7 separate regions of the Homo sapiens genome follow, and all the other regions are linked to region 4. The links are contacts of gene promoters, found by promoter capture Hi-C in blood cells and fetal thymus (Javierre and others, 2016). All regions are on one chromosome and are shown on one strand. Each heading gives the region's core, a stretch centred on a gene start or on the middle of the fragment in contact. The rest is flanking DNA. Distances are from core to core; before and after follow the strand shown. Region 1 has its middle 26 kb from the start of SCIRT. Region 2 overlaps TMEM63B (transmembrane protein 63B). Region 3 has its middle 6.7 kb from the start of SCIRT. Region 4 holds the start of MRPS18A (mitochondrial ribosomal protein S18A). Region 5 holds the start of CAPN11 (calpain 11). Region 6 overlaps SCIRT (stem cell inhibitory RNA transcript). Region 7 overlaps SCIRT (stem cell inhibitory RNA transcript).

Evidence for each region. Contacts are between HindIII fragments. The CHiCAGO score rates a contact against its expected background, and 5 or more counts as called.
Region 1: a fragment that was not itself captured here is called in contact with the fragment with the promoter of MRPS18A in region 4 in 10 of 17 cell types (erythroblasts, neutrophils, monocytes and 7 more); the score reaches 9.6 in erythroblasts.
Region 2: a contact is called between a fragment that was not itself captured here and the fragment with the promoter of MRPS18A in region 4, in 4 of 17 cell types (erythroblasts, non-activated CD4 T cells, total CD8 T cells and 1 more). The highest score is 6.9, in erythroblasts.
Region 3: a contact is called between a fragment that was not itself captured here and the fragment with the promoter of MRPS18A in region 4, in 17 of 17 cell types (erythroblasts, monocytes, megakaryocytes and 14 more). The highest score is 16.3, in erythroblasts.
Region 5: a contact is called between the fragment with the promoter of CAPN11 here and the fragment with the promoter of MRPS18A in region 4, in 2 of 17 cell types (erythroblasts and endothelial precursors). The highest score is 5.6, in erythroblasts.
Region 6: a fragment that was not itself captured here is called in contact with the fragment with the promoter of MRPS18A in region 4 in 16 of 17 cell types (erythroblasts, monocytes, neutrophils and 13 more); the score reaches 16.7 in erythroblasts.
Region 7: a fragment that was not itself captured here is called in contact with the fragment with the promoter of MRPS18A in region 4 in 5 of 17 cell types (erythroblasts, monocytes, endothelial precursors and 2 more); the score reaches 12.9 in erythroblasts.

What each region holds. Positions count from the first base shown.
Region 1 is chr6:44,099,129-44,101,828 of GRCh38, reverse strand. No RefSeq gene overlaps it. Among named protein-coding and RNA genes, the nearest start is that of SCIRT, 26 kb to the right of the region's middle. RefSeq lists a silencer at 1,423-1,717 and an enhancer at 2,623-2,700. The HindIII fragment of the contact is 1,162 bases long and covers 739-1,900 here.
Region 2 is chr6:44,130,784-44,133,483 of GRCh38, reverse strand. All of the region lies in intron 1 of TMEM63B (transmembrane protein 63B), which reads right to left. Among named protein-coding and RNA genes, the nearest start is that of TMEM63B, 4.6 kb to the right of the region's middle. RefSeq lists an enhancer at 1-319 and a silencer at 2,164-2,323. The HindIII fragment of the contact is 295 bases long and covers 1,131-1,425 here.
Region 3 is chr6:44,080,035-44,082,734 of GRCh38, reverse strand. No RefSeq gene overlaps it. Among named protein-coding and RNA genes, the nearest start is that of SCIRT, 6.7 kb to the right of the region's middle. The HindIII fragment of the contact is 475 bases long and covers 1,046-1,520 here.
Region 4 is chr6:43,686,426-43,689,125 of GRCh38, reverse strand. MRPS18A (mitochondrial ribosomal protein S18A) reads left to right here and starts at 1,335. Exons shown (of 6, transcript NM_018135.4): 1 at 1,335-1,458. The coding sequence starts at 1,347. It overlaps LOC124901320 (a long non-coding RNA gene), which reads right to left and starts at 164. Exons shown (of 2, transcript XR_007059586.1): 1 at 1-164. RefSeq lists enhancers at 965-1,576, 1,522-1,581. The HindIII fragment of the contact is 1,093 bases long and covers 1,040-2,132 here.
Region 5 is chr6:44,157,539-44,160,238 of GRCh38, reverse strand. It overlaps CAPN11 (calpain 11), which reads right to left and starts at 1,419. Exons shown (of 23, transcript NM_007058.4): 1 at 1,375-1,419. The coding sequence starts at 1,390. It overlaps LOC107986599 (a long non-coding RNA gene), which reads left to right and starts at 1,636. Exons shown (of 3, transcript XR_002956350.2): 1 at 1,636-1,654. RefSeq lists an enhancer at 73-242. The HindIII fragment of the contact is 9,288 bases long and covers 1-2,700 here.
Region 6 is chr6:44,060,537-44,063,236 of GRCh38, reverse strand. All of the region lies in intron 1 of SCIRT (stem cell inhibitory RNA transcript), which reads left to right. Among named protein-coding and RNA genes, the nearest start is that of SCIRT, 13 kb to the left of the region's middle. RefSeq lists a silencer at 301-370 and an enhancer at 1-516. The HindIII fragment of the contact is 3,500 bases long and covers 1-2,700 here.
Region 7 is chr6:44,029,687-44,032,386 of GRCh38, reverse strand. All of the region lies in intron 1 of SCIRT (stem cell inhibitory RNA transcript), which reads left to right. Among named protein-coding and RNA genes, the nearest start is that of LINC03040, 30 kb to the right of the region's middle. The HindIII fragment of the contact is 6,000 bases long and covers 1-2,700 here.

The DNA of each region.
Region 1 (2,700 bases), core at 70-2,569, 410 kb before region 4:
CTTGTTTCGAGGGGGTCTTTGGTAAGAATATGTTGGCACAGTAAGTTACTAAGAGATCAATATCATCAAGAGAAGGCCCACTAGTATGATCTGCATTTTACCCTGAAGGCTGTCCGGTGACGCCCAGACCCAGGGAATTGGGATCAGGCTGCCTGATGGAGAGCCTAGGCTCTGCATGGAGACCCCTGGGGGGACCCCTGGGGCTTATCTGACTTGGACGAAGGTTGATTTGATGGGGAAAGTAAACAACTATTTGATGCCATCCCTGGACTCTATTTCTGACCATCTACTAGAGGCTTTGTGCCCTTCAGATACTGTGGGTGCTGTCAGGGGCTTACAGCAGCAGTGATCACATTCACTAAACACTTCCTAGCCCAGTCCTAAGCATTTTATGTGCCCAGTATAATCTTATCTTCCCAGCGGCCTCATGAGGTAGGTTCTGTCAGCATCACTGGGTTTCGCCCTGTGCTACAGGCACAGGAACCAAAGCTCAGAGAGGTGGGGTAACTTGTCTAAGGTCCCAGGCCTGGGAAACGGTGACGCTGGGCTGCCTAACCGCGCTGCAGTGCCACTGCACCATAGTTGGTGGTTGTTTGTGAGTGGAAGTCGGGGTGGGGGTCAGTGGTGACTGATAGAAGGAGACCCCAGCAGAGCAGGAAGCAGGAGAATCTGAGCAAGTGAAAGGGCACCTCATTCCCTGAGCGTGGTGGGGGGACTGGGTGCTCAGAGAGGTAAGCTTGTATGTTAGTTGGGAAAGGGGGGTTGTCTACTGGGAGTGAGGGGAAGGGTGGGAGGGGAAAGGTGGGGCCAGCTGCCAGAGGGAAGGTGAGGATGGAGAAAGGGTTATCAGTGTACTGAGGGCGCTACGCCCCGTGATCTCCCCCGACAGAGAAGAGTTCTGTCCAGCATTGCTTGGTGGCCAAGTGAGGGAGGAGAGAAGGTGGCTGGAGATATTTTGGGTCTGAGTCTGCAGGGCAGGGTAGGGGATGTGGCCCCTCTCAAAGGGTTTGCTGCCCAGGACAGGGTCAACTATGCCTTTCTCCACGATTTCTGGTCTTGAGCACAGCTCTTCCTGGGTGCCCTGTACAGGGCTCTACTCACTGAAGTGCCACCGACTCCAGGGGTGTGTCGTGTCTGACCTTGGTGGAGGGCAAGGAATGTGTCTTTTTGTATCCCCAGTGCCTAGAACAATGCTGGCACCTGGAAATATTGCTTGAACCTAACTGTCTTGTTTTTGTCTTCCTGTGAGTTCAAGGACAGGAGCAGTGCTTAACACACAGTAGGTAATGGAATATTTGTTCCAGCAGCCTGGACACTCAAGGGGAGAAGCCAGGGCTGCTGCTGCCTCTCTGGAAACCCTGTCTTCCCTTTGGTTTCTGCCTCTCCCAACCCACGTGTACACACATACACATGCCAACACATACACACTCAGACACAGGCTCATACTCAGACATGCATACTCATTCACACACTTAACATATATGAGCACACAACACATGCACACTTGCATGCACACACTATTTTAGTCAGAGCTGCTCCTGCAGAGTCTCTCCAGTCCCAGGGCCTGTCCTGCAGCCTCCTAGTGGCACTGCTGTGGTATGACCTGGAGAGCCTGGACAAGGACTCTTCTCAGTGTATTCACTCCTAATTTGTCCATGACAGATTTAGGCTCAGAGCTCAAGGGGGTTGCAGACTCTGGGTGAGCCTTTGTCCCTGCCCTTGAGAAGGTCCCAGTTGCCTAAAGCTCTTGGCCAGAACTTAAGGAAACCAAGGGCACAGGTGCATAGCAGTACCTACTGTGCCTGCTAGATGCTTGGCGCAAGGGATTTTGTTTACTCCTTACAACAACTCTATGAAGCAGGTTTTACTCACCTCAGTTTGTGTTGTGGACACTGAAGCTTGGTTGTTAATTAATTGCCCCAAATTGCATAGTAATGGATGGAGCCAGGATTTAGGCCTGGGTCTGACTCCAGAGGTCCTTTCTTTCAGCACTAGATGGAATCCTTGTTGGCAGAACAAGGGGGAGAAGAGGCTTTATGTTGCCCAGCTTGTCCTTTTGAGCACATAACATCGTATATGAGCCAGAACATAAAGGTATGAAAGTTAATACAGGTCGGTACTTCTTAGCTTTTATGGGCCCTTCGAAAACCTGAAACTTGCTAAGGGTTGTGGACCCTTTCCCCAGATAGTGCATATATGCAGAGGCATACATAGGTTACTCTGGGTACAATTTCAGGGATTTGAGGTCCCCCTGAAACCTCCAGTGGTTCCCAAGTTGAGAACCCCTGTGAGAGGTGTTTGCTAACAATGTGACAGATGAGAAGAGATGACTGTCCATGCCCTGCACAGAGCACATACCACAGTGCCCAGAGAGGTCTGTACATACTCGTTTCAGCCTGTTTTTAATAGAATTGGAAACAATCTGAATAGCCATCAGTAGGGGCCTGGGTAAATAAGCAAAGTCCATGTGTGCCATGGAGTAGCACACAACTGTTCCAAGAAAGGATGGTGTAGGTATAGATAGATGTAGCTCTCCAAGACATATTGTTGAATGGAAAAAAGCCTGTTGAAGAGTGATATACCTCACACATTATTGTGGGTTTTTTGTTTTTTTTTTTTTTTAAGACAGGGTCTCACTCTGTCACCCAGGCTGGAGTGCAGTGGTGCAATCTCAGCTCACTTCTGCCTCCATACGCCGGG
Region 2 (2,700 bases), core at 29-2,528, 440 kb before region 4:
CTGACAACACTGAAGCTCTGCCTCGGGGGCGGGCTGTGGAGCAGGGGAGGAGGTCCTCAGGGAAGAAAAAGGAAAACCAAAGAGAACAACAAAACTAGAAACAGTGACTGCAACTTCGGGAGCAGCATCCCTTAGCCCCCAGGGGGACTCAGAGGGTTTCTCCTGCCTCTTCCTAACACTTCAACCACAGGGCAAGAGGCAGAAGCCCTCAGATGGAGGGGAGGATGGAGTTGTTTATGTGTTTCACTTGGTCCCAGGGAGTCTCTGCAAAGCCTGGATTAGGAAGACTAAAGGAGTGTGTGCTGGTGTGTTATGCCTCTTCCTTTTCCAGTCCAAGCTGCCTTTAAAAACACACTAATTTAGTAATTGTATTGGGTACCATTTGTCCAGTGCCCTCAGTTTCAAGAATAATATATTACATGATTTCATTTAATCCTCGACGATCCTGAATTGAGTGTCACTGACATTTTAGGGTGGGGGCACAGGGCCTCAGAGGTTAAGTAACTTTCCCAAGGTCACACTGCTAATAAAATGAGGGACCTAGGACTCAAACCTAGCTCACCTTCTTTCTAAAGCTAGAATGATTTTCAGGGCACCACGGTGCTTTTCTGATGTTCCTAGAACAGGACTCGGCAGACCATGGAAGCTTTATAAATGCTCATTAAATGTTCTCAGGCCAGAGAACCTGTGGGTGCTGTGGAAATGTGTGTGTCCAGGTATGTAAATGTGTGTTGATGTGTGGACCTGTGTCCAGGAGGAGCTAGGTGACTGCATGGCAGTCCACGGAAATGAAGGGAGTTGTTGGCTTCGAAGTGGGGGTGTGAACATGGGTGTGTCTGGGAGCCCGGGTATGTAAACATAAGATGCACAGAACCCTGGGGCACTATGGGAGGTTAAAGGTAGGTATAGGTATCTTGGGTTGGGGGGACTCTAACTAGTCCCCCTTTCTCAATTCTCAACTCCAATGTACTCCAGCAATCTCAACACTCTATTCCCACCCCTTGCCTGTTTCTCTCTCTGAATTCCAAGGCTCCATCAGATCAGAATGAAATGAGAACAAGCCCCAGAGTACCATTCCTATCAACTCCTGTCTTCTCCACACCAAAGAAAGGTAGAGCATTTTGGAAGCTTCTACATGAAGTGGCCCCAGCAGGGTGGACAGGATCTAGCTAGATGGTTAGTAACTGAAATCACCATGCTCCTCTGCTGTCCGCCTCCTTGGGGTCACAAAGTACTCTCCCCTCCACAACAGCATTAATCTTCCCACCTGCATGGGAGGAAGGCAGGGCACACTCAGATCACTATCCCCATTTTACAGGGAGGAAGCAGGAACCCAGTAGGGGAAGCAACTTGCACAGTGACAGGACAGGTAAGGGGTGGAGCCTGGGCTGGCAGCTCTGCCAGTTGACAGGGCTGCTCCAAGCTTTTAATTGTGGGGGTGGGGTTGCTGGGTTGAGTTTCATCAAGGGCAGCTGCTCTCAAAGCCAGCACTGGGCTGAGCAACTGAGAAGAGGGAAGACATTGAGGCAGAATACCTTGGGGATGGGAGGTGGCAGTTCTTCCACTCCACGAGGTGCCTGCACCAGCTATATCCCAGTTTCTCTAGTCTGATATTGAGGTTTTGGTTGAGGTGTGTCCAGAGAGTGATGGAGCATTTTACTTCTAGCTAACTTTTTAATTTTACCATTAAGGAGTGTGTGCATGGTGGGGGTTGGAGAGCTATAACTTATAAGCTTTTTTTTGGGGGGGTTGTTGTGTATTTTTTTGAGACGGAGTCTCGCTCTGTCACCAGAGTGGAGTGCAGTGGCGCGATCTTGGCTCACTGCAACCTCTGCCTCCTGGGTTCAAGGGATTCTCCTGCCTCAGCCTCCTGAGTAGCTGGGACTACAGACACATGCCACCACGCCCAGCTAATTTTTGTATTTTCAGTAGAGACAGGGTTTCACCATGTTGGCCAGGATGGTCTCGATCTCTTGACCTCATGATCTGCCCACCTCGGCCTCCCAAAGTGCTGGGATTACAGGAGTGATATAAGCTTTTTCAGTGGAGTTACTGGGCAAGATTTAAGTTAGGGCTTTGGATCAAAGCAAGGCCATGTGGTCTGAGGGGAGGAGGGGAAGATGGAAGCGAGCTCTGTTACTACGAAACCTGAGTCTCAGTCTTCCAATCTGTAACAAAGAGATACAAATATCCTTACTCTACCCCTACCCACTTCAGAGAGAAAGGCAAGAATATATCCACAAGTGAGCATAAAAGTAGTAGTAGGTGCCAGGCACGGTGGCTCACACCTGTAATCCCAGCATTTTGGGAGGCCGAGCTGGGCAGATCACAGGGTCAGGAGTTCGAGACCAGCCTGGCCAACACAGTGAAACCCCGTCTCTACTAAAAAAATACAAAAATTAGCTGGGTGTGGTGGCATGCGTCTGTAGTCCCAGCTACTCGGGAGGCTGAGGCAGGAGAATCACTTGAACCCAGGAGGCAGAGGTTGCAGTGACCTTAGATCATGCCACTGCACTCCAGCCTGGGCGACAGAGTGAGACTCCATCTCAAAAAAAAAAGTAGTAGTAGGCAGGGTGGGGTGGCTCACCCCTGTAATCTCAGCACTTTTGAAGGCCAAGTGGGGAAGATACCTTGAGCCTAGGAGTTGGAGGCTGCAGTCAGCCATGATCATGCCACTGCACTCCAGCCTGGGCAAGAGAG
Region 3 (2,700 bases), core at 34-2,533, 390 kb before region 4:
AATGAATCTGGGGCTGGGAGCTTAGCTGCCTGGGCCAAGTCCTGGCCCTACCTTTCTTCCAGCTGCAAGACCATTTCACCTGCTCAGCCTCAGCTTCCCATCTGCCAGTGAGGGACAACCTGTCTGGAATGGTGGCTGAGTCTGAAATGAACATCACCTGGTGATGTGCAAGCCAGGTGAGAATGCCACCGTGCAACATAAAAGTGGGTGGCCGTTGCTGATCAGCACCTTTTACTTCCACTTAGCACCATGTTAGGCCCAGGAGAGGAAATGGATGGACCCTTGACTCTATTTGGTAAGGATTTAGTCTGTGCCTTGAGAATGGATTGGGTTGCCTGGGCTGCGGAGATGTAGAAGATAGTTGGGCAAGGTTCATTGGATGGATGACTGAATGACTAAATATATGAAGAGATGCCTGTTTCTGCAGTGTTGAGAAGTTCAGTGCCTCCCAACTGGGAGGCACGAGGGACTGGACCAGATGACCTTAAATTTTTTTTTTTTAATATTAAAAAAATACACAGAGAGACAAGGTTTTGCTATGTTGCCCAGGCTGGTCTTCGACTCCTGGCCTTGAGCAATCCTCCAGCCTCAGTTTCACCAAAGTGTTGAGACGACAGGTGTGAGCCACCATGCTCATCCCAGATGACATTTGAAGCGGCTTTCCACTGAAGGTCCTTCCCAGGTTCTGTGACTTGAGCTGAGTTCTGCCCCCTTTCCAAGAGCCCCTGCTTATCCCCAGGCCTCCCTGTGATTGGTGCTGGGTTGGGCACAGGACCTTTTTGTCCCACATGGTCCTGCCCACAACGGTTCCCAGGTTAAGGTATGGGGAGAGCCCATGGCCAGGAGAACTGAGGCCCATGCGGGACCTACATGATGAGTCAGAGTGAGGCTGGGGGAGAGGACAGCCTTCGAGAGCCAAGGCTGTGTTGTGGGAGGGAAGTATTGCCAGCTTTTTGGGGGTTAGCCGGGAAGGCTTCCTGGAATTGGCGTTGATTCTCAACGTGGGAGCCACTAGGTTGGCCCCTAGTCCCAGCCGTCACAAGCTTGTGTGGACTAGTATGCATCTGCCTTCTGCTTACCTTGCCATGTCTAGCCCATGACCCTGGAGGGCAAGAGGGAGGGGTGTCCTGCTGCGGGGCAGAGGGATTCTGGCCTAGGTGTGTGTGGGAACTCCTGAGGCTGCAGGCTTCAGTTTTTGCCGGCTCACTGAAGCAGTCTCTGGGGAAGCCGGGGCTTCTGGGAGTGGTTCTGGTGCTGCGTGGTCTTGGCTAGTTTTCATCTCTTGGAATATTTCCTCCCCTGCAAAATGAGTGGCTGGCAAAGGTGATCATCCAAATCCCCCTGCACTGGGATTCATGGCAGGAGTCTGCGGGGGGACACCTGGACAACCCAGGATGAGACCCTGTGCCCTGGGGTGAGCTGGATGACAGGCTCAGGGAGTCATGGGGGCAGGGGGGTTCTCTCTGTGCAGCTGCCTCCTGGAGGGCCTTTTGGGGGCTAAAAGTACCACCCTGCAAGCTTCCCTCCCTGGCTTCTGCCCCCCTCCCCTGCCCCATTTTGTCCCCTTTGTTACATTCCACAGTGGAAAGCGATCCCTCTCTCAAGGCCTGAGGATTACAGTCAGGAGAAAAGCCTGGGTCGCCCTGGGAACACTCACGTAGCCTTTTCCCACCGGTGCCCTCCTCCTCCTGACAAAGGCTGGGGTAGGGGGATGATCCTGATGCACCCCAGCCTGAGGGAGCAGTAGGGTCTCTGGGGTTGGGGGGCTGGTCAGCCTTTCCCTCCCTCCCTGGGGTTCAGCAACCCCAGGGAGGGAGTGAACTGTGTTGAGAAGCCCCCAGTGGGCCCTCTCAGGATGCAATTGGGGCCTAGGTCCTGGGTTTCCATGTGCCTGGGCTCCCCCTGCCCCCTCACTTCTGCCCTGAACCCTCCCGCAGGCTGCAGTGCCACTCCCCATCCCTACTAAGCTGGGGATTTCCGCAGGCTGAGCCAACCGCCTGACCCTAATTATGGCGCCTTCATCCTGTTGAGGTTAAGCTCCCTATGACTTTCTCTCCCCCCACCCCAGAGGCCAGGCTGGGGGTCAGAGACTCAAGAGTCTCAAGCCTACTGTGCCCCCTCTGGAAAGGGTTGATGGGCCTGTGTCCCCTTGGGTGGTTGGGAGGCAGCTTCTTGTGGGTCTGGGTAGACAAGCTAAGATAGTTTCTCTGGGCCGGGTGCGGTGGCTCACGCCTGTAATCCCAGCACTTTGGAAGGCTGAGGCAGGCGGATCATGAGGTCAAGAGATTGAGACCATCCTGGCTAACACGGTGAGACCCCGCCTCTACTAAAAAAAAACAAAAAAAATTAGCCACGTGTGGTGGCAGGCACCTGTAGTCTCAGCTACTCAGGAGGCTGAGGGAGGAGAATGGCGTGAACCCGGGAGGCGGAGCTTGCAGTGAGCTGAGATTGCGCTACTGCACTCCAGCCTGGGCAACAGAGCGAGACTCCGTCTCAAAAAAAAAAAAAAGTTTATCTGGAGAGCCCTTAGGACAGAGGGGAGCCCTGGGGAGCTGACCTCTAGAGGGCTGGGAAGTCTGAAGATGGGGAACTCCTAGAGGACCCATTCTCAACCCTGGCTGCCTATAGAATCACCTAGAAATATTTTCTTAAAATTACCTTTGTCTTAGCCAACCCCTACCAATTTTGATTTCCTTAGTC
Region 4 (2,700 bases), core at 86-2,585:
TGAAAGAGGAAAAACTGGCAGTTGTATTTTCTCTTTGGTACCATAAGCTTCCTTACAACACAAGTGAGTCCAACTTGTGAAAAGAGTCATCTCCATAACTGCTCTATTAACTAGCTTATGTTTATTGAGCCCTTTTGTTTTGTTTTGTTTTGTTTTGTTTTGTTTTTGAGACGGAGTTTCACTCTTGTCGCCCAGGCTGGAGTGCAATGGTGTGATCTTGGCTCACTGCAACCTCCGCCTCCTGGGTTCAAGCGATTCTCCTGCCTCAGCCTCCCAAGTGTCTGGGATTACAGGTGCCCGCCACCACACCCACCTAATTTTTGTATTTTTAGTAGATAGGGTTTCACCATGTTGGTCAGGCTGGTCTTGAACTCCTGACCTCAGGTAATCCACCCGCCTCAGCCTCCCAAAGTGCTGGGATTACAGGCATGAGCCACCACACCCGGCCGATCACTTATGTTTTATCACATCTAATCTTCAGGGTCTAGTCCTCCCCTAGGCCCTATAAAATAGATTCTACTCATTCATTCAACAAGTATATATTGTACTCTTATTATGTGTCAGGAACTATTCTAAGTGCTGGAGATGTGCGAGTCAACAGAAAACAATGTTCCTGACTTCATGGAGCTTACAGTCTGGTGAGAAGACACATACAAAACAAACATAAAACTGAAATTGTCCCAAGCACTAAGATGGAGAGGCATCTGGTGCTGAGAATGGGCAGTCAAGCAAAACTGTGGAAATAAGGTTTGAGGTGAGCTCTAAGAAATAAGCAGAAGCTAACTAGACAGCTAAAGAGCAGACAAAGGAAATAGCTTGTATCAAGGCCCTGGGGCTAGAGAGAGGTCTAAGTATATGCAAATCAAAGATCAGTGTGGCAGTGGTCAGGGAAGAAGGGGGTATCAATTCTATCCCAGGTCTGCCTGATATCCGATACTCCAGAGCCAGAGTTCCTAACCATTTCAGCCTCTCCCGTAGAGGTCTAGCCCCAGTCACAGAAGCTAAAAGTCCACAGCTCACGTGCAGTGAAGAGAAAGCTTTAAAGACATAGGTGGGGTGTTGCGTGCGATTTTCCTAAGGAAGCCTTCCAGGAAACGAATGCAACCTTGAAGACTTGTAGGCATTGGCAGACAGGAGCTAGAAGACCTCCCCTAGATCCTTAACACGAAATATAGGCTTGACGCAGAAGCCTCTCTTCGTATCCCAAAGCGGACAGGTGAGAGAAATGATGTGACAGGAGCAAGCGAACTACAACCCCGCCCCGCCGTTCCTGCCCCACCACTGCGGCGGCGGGCGCTACGTTCCGGAAGCGGAAATGGACGAGAGGTCAGGGTAGGTTTTTGAAGATGGCGGCCCTCAAGGCTCTGGTGTCCGGCTGTGGGCGGCTTCTCCGTGGGCTACTAGCGGGCCCGGCAGCGACCAGCTGGTCTCGGCTTCCAGCTCGCGGGTTCAGGGAAGGTGAGTCATGCGTCCCAGCAACCTCCTGAAATTAAGAAGAGCGGCAGAGACTGCTTCCGCCAGCCCCGGTGCGCTCCTTCCTACCTTTCCTTCGTCCGATTCTGAAACTTTGGAGGTACCGGCTCCCCAGGCGTGCTTAAAAGCCCCTTCCACACCCTGGTGCCTTATCTTGATCTCCTGCCCCTTGTGAGTATCTTCACAAGGCGGAGGAGGACGGAGAGAAAAGCCTGCTTACTTAGCAGGAGCAGACACTAAACCTGTCCTAGGGCTCAGAAAAGTTTTCGGAAAGGGTTTGCATGTTAATTCTTCCTTCCATGTTCTCCGAATCGCAGTCTCTTTTATTAAAGAGTCTCTGGATCACGAAGGAAGGCCATCTGGGTACCCTCCCAGAGCCTCCCTTTCCACTTTCCCTTCTCAAAATGCTGTGATCTGATGGCGGCGTTCTCTGCCCCGGGCCGCTAGTCTCCCTGTGAGGGGGAGGCCAAAGTGGAAAGGCCATTGAATAGCTGAGACATAGGCAAATGCAGGATGGTAGTTCAGCTTTTCATTAATCTTAATCTGGGAAAGCGGCCTGATTCGAGCATCAACTGAGAGTTTACTGAATGCCAAGTGCTATGCTTCAAGCTGTGAAGGAATTCTGGAGACAGAAAATACAGCCCTTTTTCTGAAAAGCTTAGGTTCTAATGAGATTATGTATATACACACTCCAATAAATGCAAGTTAGCCTTTTACGTGACGAAGTACAGGGAGACTCAGTTACTGGAAACGGCAAACCCAGTTGGAAGTTTTCATAAAGAGGATGTGTCTTGAGCAGGCTCACAAAAGGATGGAATCTGGCGGAGAGTGAAACGGTCTTTTAGGACATAGCCTTCCTTTGTGTACTCCTGGAAGCAGGAAAGGATGAGTGATGTGCAAAAGAAGAGATGTGGGGTTTTTTGAGGATCTGGCATAGTATTGGGCAGCATATCCTTTAACGAAAGCTGAGAAGTATCCAGTGGAAAAGAGTGATCATTGTTGTCAGAGGGAGCAGAAAAGTCTAAAAAGGGCCTAATGAAGGGGCCATTGGATTTGTCTCAGAAGAGGTCTCTTTGTAGCTTTCAAACAGCAATTTCAATAGAGTGGCAAACAAGGAATCCAGTTTGGAGAAATGAAAGAGATAGTTGATGAAGAGATGGAAATAGTAAGTATGTTTGAAGAATTTAGCCCGTAAGGGAAGTGGAGCATTTGCTAGAAAAAAAAGTC
Region 5 (2,700 bases), core at 170-2,669, 470 kb before region 4:
ATGGCTCAGTTGAGCTAATTAATATCTGCATTACTGCACATACTTGTTATTTGTTTGTGGTGAGAACACTTAAAATCTACTGTCAGTGATTTTCTTTTTTTTTTGAGATGGAGTCTCGCTGTGTCGCCCAGGCTTGGGGTGCGGTGGCACGATCTCGGCTCACTGCAACCTCCACTTGCTGGGTTCAAGAGATTCTCCTGCCTCAGCCTCCCGAGTAGCTGGGATTACAGGCGCCCGCCACCACGCATGGCTAATTTTTGTATTTTAGTAGAGACACGGTTTCACTATGTTGGCCAGGCTGGTCTCGAACTCCTGACCTCAGATGATCCACCTGCCTTGGCCTCCCAGAGTGCTAGGATTACAGGCGTGAACCACTGTGCCTGGCCTCTCTCAGTGATTTTCTAAATGCAATACATTGTTATTAGGGGACTATAGATTTAAGGACAGTTTGATTTCCGGCACTGGGAAAAAACTAAGATGTTGTGTCAGGGAACTTTAAAAAAAAATAAATACTAATAAGTAATAATAATAAATAAATAAATTATATTTTGAGATGAGGTCTTGCTATGCTGACCAGGCTGGTCTTGAACTCCTGGGCTCAGGGCACTTCTGAAGAACAAGGACTGGGTTTGGGGTCACCAGCTAGGCCTAAACTTCCTAGGGTCAGGTAAACAGGGAGGGCCTGAGAAGCTGGGAGGCTGGGTCTAGGGGCCCATGGTCTCACGGTGCCCCAGGCTGAGGGTGAGGTACAGGGCTGACCTTCTGCTGGCCAAGGCTGGCTGCCCTCTGTGCACCCTAGCCCCACAGGAACAACTCAGTTCTGCCCAGCCCTCCCCTTCCCCCCAGCCCACTCTCCCCCATCTCCTGGAGTCTGGTCCCAGGCTTGCCTCAGGTAGTCCTGCCCCTGCCACCCTGAGGATCTCATCTTCCTGGGCTGAGGGACCTGCTTTTCTAGGCTTAGGAGAGGTTCTCTCTGTTCCCTAAAGTTTTCTTCTCTACGTGGGCTTTTTCACACAAACCCTTTTCCCCAGCAGCCATGACAGTGGGATGGCCGGCCCCTCTCCTCTCCCCAACTCCAACTGTCAGTGGAGAGGAGAAAGAGTTCCTGCCCGGCCTACCACCCAGTCTGACCACCAGTGGCCTATCCTTCCCCAAACAGTCTGAGAACGAGGCCCAGGTCCTGTCCTTAGGGAGCATCCAGTCTGATGGAAGAGTCACTCTCTGTACCCTCAAGGGGCATCCAGTCTGATGGAAGAGTCACTCTCTGTACCCTCAAGGGGCACCCAGTCTGATGCGGGACACAGCTCCTCCCCTGGGGGGAGGCTCTAGCCTGCAGGAGGTACAGGAGTGGGGCAAGGCCCCATGAGTGCCTACCTGGGGAGTACAGCATGCTGGTGGCTAGCTCGGTGCTTGACAGTTGAAGGTTCTGGTGGGAGGGGGAGAAGAGACCCTCCCCCCAGAACTCTCTCATTGCAGTGGGATTCCTAGGTCAGCAGCCGGTTTAACAGCTGCCTTCCCTTTTCTCCTTCTCAGTAACCCAGCCCCTTACCCAGCTGAGGGCTACCCGCTTTAGGGACAGATGACCCAGCACCCCTGCCTTGCACAGCCTCCACCAGCCTGGCTGTCCTCACTGTATCACGGTCATCCCATCAGGGTAGGTCCCAGTCCCTTTTTTTCAGCCCAAGGTTTCCAGGAAGGGGTTGTCCCTGACACACCAACCTGACCTTTACATCCAGAAAGCCTTCTCATTCCCAAAAGCCCCTTTCTCACTGACATGGCATTTTTCCTGTGTTGCTGTCTTCACATGGCACCCTCCTCTGTGTCTCTTCTTCTTATAAGGACACCAGTCATATGGGGCTAGGGTCCCATGCATTTCAGTATGACCTCATCTTAATTGAACGAATTACATCTGCAACCACCCTGTTTCCAAATGAGGTCACATTCTGAAGTACTGGGGGCCAGGACTTCAACATGCCTTTTTGGGGGACACGATTCCACCTGCAACACTCTCCTTGCCTAGCCCCAGTCTGGCAAGGTTAGGCCACTGGTCTGACCACATGTCCTGCCTCTGCACTGGAAAGTGGGAATGCTTTGAGCTAAGAACTCTGCTCCAGAGTGCAGTCTTCTCTGGAGTGTATGATGGCTGAGGACAGGGACTGTCAAGGTCATCCCAGTGCCCCTCAGCCCTGCCTGGTGCTAATCAGGCACAGAACAGGTGTGAGAGCACCCAATGGGATCAGAGAACCTTGTTCCAAGCTCTGAAACAGGAGCTGACCTTGGGCGAGCCCTCCCCCTTTCTCCTTTCTGGGACTCAATCTCCTCATCTACGAGAATATTAATTATGGTTTGTTATTATGTGCCAAACACTGGGCTAAGAACTTCCTACTTATTTAATCCTTAAAACAGCCAGAGGCCATGACATTGCTATTCCCATTTTATAGATGAGGAAAGTGAGGTCTAGAGGTATGATGCAACTTGCCCAGGGTCACACAGCTGTTAAGCGGTCGAGCCAGGATTTAAACTAATAACTTCAGATTTTTTTTTTTTTTTTTTTTTTTGAGATGGAGTCTCGCTCTTTTGCCCAGGCTGGAGTGAAGTGGTGCAATCTCAGCTCACTGCAACCTCTGCCCCCCGGGTTCAAGCGATTCTCCTGCCTCAGCCTCTCAAGTAGCTGGGATTACAGGTGCCCACCACCATGCC
Region 6 (2,700 bases), core at 118-2,617, 370 kb before region 4:
GGCTGCTTTGGCCAGCGGCTGCCTGCCCAGCTCAAGGGGCCAAGGCCAGGAGGCTGGGCCGTGGGGTCCATTGTCTGCCTGCCGCCCCCACCCCTCTGGCGAGCACAAGCTCAGCAACAGCCGGCAGCGGGCCCTTGGCAGAAGCTCGGTCCTGTTCCCCCCACACAGGCACGCCCTGGCCTGCACGTCTTCGCCTGGGCCTCCAGCCATGATGGCGCTGCCCGCTGTGCTGATCAGTGCTGCCACTGGCCTCTAGGGGGCACTGCTTGGGCACTTAGGAAGTCCTTGCAGGGTGAGCCAGGGCCTGGAGCCCTCATCATGGGGTTGTCAGAAGCTCAGCCCATTGGGGTAGGGCAGACTGGGGAGAGGGCAGAGGCAAGATGGGTCACCTGGACAGAGGGTGGAGCAAGGTGACCCCCAGGATGTGGCCTTGGAGAGTTATAGAAATGTCCTTGTCAAACTCCAGGTCTACAACAGGTGGGCAAGGGGGTAGGAAGCTAGTGTTGACCAGCAGTGTGACTTTGGGCCTCCTCCCTCAGGTCTCAGTTTCCTTATCTGTATAACGCAGGGACTGGAGAGGACCCATCTCTAGGTTTAATGTTCTGTGATTCGTGGCACATTTGCTCTTCCTGGCTGGGTTCAGCCCCAGTTGAAACCAGTGGGCAAGATGGGGCATGTCTTGATCTGTGTCTCCCTTTCCCACTTCTCCATCAAAGTGGTAGAAGGGCTGGGGTTTCTGCAGCCCAATACCCTTGGGAGTCATTGAGGTGAGGCCTGACAACTCACATGCCCCTCAGAGCCCTTAGTCCCAGGACCCCCAGGGGCAGAGCTGTGGCCTCTAATCAGCAGGTTAAAAATAACACCCATGGGCTCTTCTCCCTCCACAGGAATGGTGTTTTTGTTGGCATCTGTGGCCCCTCTGGCCCTGCCAACTTGCACAGCATGTGACATTGTCAGGGGAATGTAGGTGTGAGGAAGGAGTTAGCCGGAGGGGCTTGCACTGCCCTGCTCCAGGTGAAGGTGCAGAGCAGAGGTCAGGGACAGCTGGCAGGGCCACCTGTGGCCACAAGGCTGCCCATGAGGCTGAGGGCACATGATGGGCAAGGCAAAGTCCACTGGTAGAAATAAAATGGTGCAGACTATAGGCTGGGCTATGTCCAGGTGCTGGGCCTGGGCCCTGCAGGGCAGAGCTGTGCAACCAACTCATCCCAGTCCTCAGACCCCAGAAGCAGAATCAGTGAGTCACAGGATTGTGGAATCAAGGCATTCTAGACTTGAAAAGAACTCAAGAGATACTGTCCAATCCCTGCCCAGACAGGAGAAAAATAGCCCCACTGGAGAATATTTATGGAGCTCGTCCTGGGTGCCAGGCTCTAAGCTGGCATCCACTGAATTAATCTTCCCAGCAACCCTCTGCACCCAGTTCTGTTTTTTTTTTTTCTTCCAAACAGAGGAAGAAACAAAGGACAGAGAAGTTAGGTAACTTGTCCAAAGTGCCTTCAAACTGATCTCTGTATGATTCCTAAATCCCTATCCATAATCGTTACCTTGTCTGATTTAACACAGGTGGGAACAGAAGCCCAGAACTTGGAGGCTGTGCTGGGGTTTCAGGACAGGCCACTGAAGCTGTGTGCCCTATTCAGTTCTGGACTCAGTCCACAGCTCCTTGCACACAGAGAGCTCATGTCATGGGCAGTCAGAATTCTCCCTTAGGTCATCCGGAATCGTGTTTACTTTAATGTAAGATCATTTCTTCTCCTTCACTTCTCCAGAGAGAAATGACAGCTCCTTAGTTCTCCTCTTAAAGTCCCTGCTCATTGTTAACAGTGGTCACACTCGTAATTTTTTGAGGGTACAAATCTGCCAACACACTCATCATTTAACCCCCAACTTTCTCTGGGGAACTTCAGGAAAAGCATCCCTGGGCATTAACTCATCTAACTGCTTATCATGGCGTTGATGTCACCCCTGAGCCTGCTCTTGCCCAGGCAGAACAAGCCCGATTTTTTCCCCCTTTCCGTCGGGCCTGTGTTTGCCCTCTCCATGGCATCTGCGGCCCTGTCTGGCCTCTTGCCAGCTTCTTGTGACCAAATGTGGACCTGGCCTGGCCAAGGAGGAGAGCTTGGGGGTCAGGGCCTGACCTGACAGCTGTCCCTCCAGGGGTCCCAGGCAGTGGTACCAAAATTTAAGCCTTGGCTGCCCCCACCCTGCCAGGTCTCCCTACTACCCCCATTCCATCTTATGCCGTCAGGATCCTGATGTGTGTTTATGGTGTGGTGCTCCCAAGGCATTACCTGGTCCTTTAGGTCCCCAAAGCGCTGGAGATATTATTCTGGAGTGAGGAGTCCAGGTTTCTTTCCCTAACTCATGCCACAGACCAATCAAGTGGCAGCTTCTTGTTCCTCACACCCCAGGGCAGGATTTCAACAGCAGCAATAATAGCACTGACTGCTTACTGAGCACTTGCCTTGTGCCAGACACTGTGATGAGCACATTACAGTAGCCCTTTCGCTGAATACTCACAACAGCCAGGTGAGGTGGGGTCCACGGGTATCCTTACTTTATAGGAATCCCAGGCACAGAGAAGGGTTTTGTCTGGGCTGACAACGGATTTAATGCTACACTGATTCTCTGTTTAGTTTTGGTTTGGTTTTTGAATCACTTCACGCTGGCCCTGAGTGAGGCGATAAGGCCCATTCC
Region 7 (2,700 bases), core at 88-2,587, 340 kb before region 4:
TCAATTTATTGAATTGAATTCTCATGTTTATTTGGGCCTATTTAAAATTGTTTTATTCTTTCCAATTGATCTGTATGCAGGCACCAGTCCCACACTATTTTAATTATTGTAGCTGTATACTATTTTTGAAAAATGTTTTATAGTGCTACTCTTTCCTTGTTAGTTTACTTATTTTTCCTTCCAGGAATGTTCTATTCATTTATATTTATTTTTCCAGAGGAATTTGTATGTAATCATTTTGTCAAATTATCCCCCAAAAGCAGCTGATATTTTGTACAGAAGTATGCTGAATTTATAGTTTAATTATGGTGACACTGACATGCTTACAATATTACTGACTTTTTATCCAAGGAAAAGGTCTTTCTCCATCGATTCAAGTCTATGTGTATGTCCCTCATTTAGCTTTTACAGCTATTTCCATGTATCTGCACATTTTTTCTATGTGTTTTATGTTAGGTTTTTGTTAACCTTATTAATGGGATGTTTTTCCATATTCTTTTATTAGTTATTTCTTGTATTTAGGAAATCTTGTTTTTAAACTAGCCACTTTGATAAATTCCTGATATTACTAAAAGTTCTTTAGCTGATTCTCTTGGAATATCCAAGTATAGAGTAATATCATCCAATGATAATAACTGCTTTCTTTTTACAATATTTATACCTCTTATTTTATTTTTCATCTAACTGCATTGTCAAGTAATTGCAGAACAATATTAAATACTAATGGTGATAGTTTATGGGGAGAGCTGACGTCAACTTTAACGGGACTGCTTTTAGAGTCTCCCCATTAAACATGTTGGGAAAATTAATCTATTTTACATGCTAATATAGTAGGTTATGTTGAGTTTCCCAGAATTTGGCTTTCTTGTACTTCTGGAAAGAATCATACTTAGTCTTGACACATTCTTTTGTCAACACAACTTTCATCAATACTCCCTTCCTTAGCTCAGAACTTCCTCCGTCGTTCATCTTCCTCCCTTGGAAGCAGAGGCACAAAATCAGGGCTGGAGGTGTGAGGCGGGGGCATGGCCAGGGAAGAGCTGAGGCTCAGGACATAGCTGTTGGCCTCCTGTCCCGAAGGAATGAGGATCCACAAGAGCCTCCTTAAGGCTGACAGAGTATGTGGAGACGAGCAGGGGGTTGAGAAGCCCTGGGGGCTGGAGAGGACTGAACAGCAGGGGGCAGGGGTCCTTGGAAGAAAACCAGGACTCTTCTGCTTGCCCCCTGAGGAAGCCCTGCACCTCTGTCACCCTCAGGACTATCTTGAGCCCCAGTCTTTTGAGGGAGGCATGATCCAGAACTTTGGGCCTCTCCCAGGCTAGTGGACTCAATGCAGGCACAGGTGGCTACTCTTACACTAGGACAGGGAGGCTAAAGGAGAGCCCTGAAGGTGGCAGGAGGTCAGGAAGATGTCAGCCTGGCATGGCTATTTCTTAACATTTGCAGCATGCAGCCTTCATGCAGCAGCTTCTGAAAGCAGTGACCACGTCCTCCCCCCTATCTCCTCCAGCATCCCTAGGACTGTTCTTTGGTCCTAAACATATGAAGTCACCGCACCCTCCCTCCATTTCTTGAAGCAGTTTCGAAGTCCTCTGGCCATGACCCTTTCTTAGGAACCTGGCTGACTTCAGCATCACTCTTGGGTGAACATTGCTGTGCCCAGGGCTTGTTGGAGAGAGGAGAGGGTTAGAGGGAGGGAGGGAGGGGATTTTCCAGTGTCCCCTCTGTCCCCTCTGGGCAGGGATTGAAGTGGCAGAGGGTGTGGGCGATGTGCTGAGGCCAGGTAACCAGGAGACAAGAGAGCCCTTTAGATGTCCTCCCTGAGCTGCCCTTCCTTTCCTTACAACTGTCAGCTCTAGGAGCACAGAAGAGGAAATTCCTTGACCTAGAACCTTAGCATCTTCCAGGCCTACAAACCTTTAATTAATGCAGTCATTTAAGAGGAAGGAAGGTGGTTTTGTAACTGTGTTGTATACCTGAGTGAGTATAGACACATTCTCCGCTCTTTCATCAGGAGAGAAAATAGAGCATATAGACAGGTGTGGGGGTAAACTGAGTTTTAGGCAAAGTGAGAAGAGCATGGTCAGCCATTGACAGGAGGCCAGCAAGAGTGAGTGGTGGACACCCTGCTCTGGAGGCAGGGGACTGAACGACGTCTGGATGCTGACGAAGCTGTGAGCATTAAAGGGTTCTTGAATCTTTTCCTGCTACTTTTGGTGCATCCCAGTAGGGACAACTGAAGCCAACCCTATTTCCCAGCCATGGGAGACTGGGAATATAGTGGGAAGACTGGTCAGCAGGAAGGGTCTCCTGCCATCAGACTGGGGCTAAGGACAGAAGTACAGCTTCTGACAAGAAAGGCAAGAGCAAGGCGGGTCCCAGCCTTGGGGGATCCAGGACCCTGGGCAGGCACTAAAGGCAGGGACTTGGATAGAAAGAGGCAAGATGGGCCCTGGAGGTTGGATGTGCACACACAATGAGGGCTAGGCCTTCAGAATGAGGTGGGGTGCATGGCAGAATGAGGAGCCCTTTGGGCATTTGAGGCACAACCCAGGAGGGCTTTCCCTGGAGCCATCTTGCAAAATCATGGTGGATTCTTGACTTGTGTGGCTTCCTGTGGAAAAGTAGGTGCCACTGGTGGATCCTGTTAAGTGCCCTGGCATGAGTCTTACTCATTTCCAGTCTTCTCAATTTCTGCAC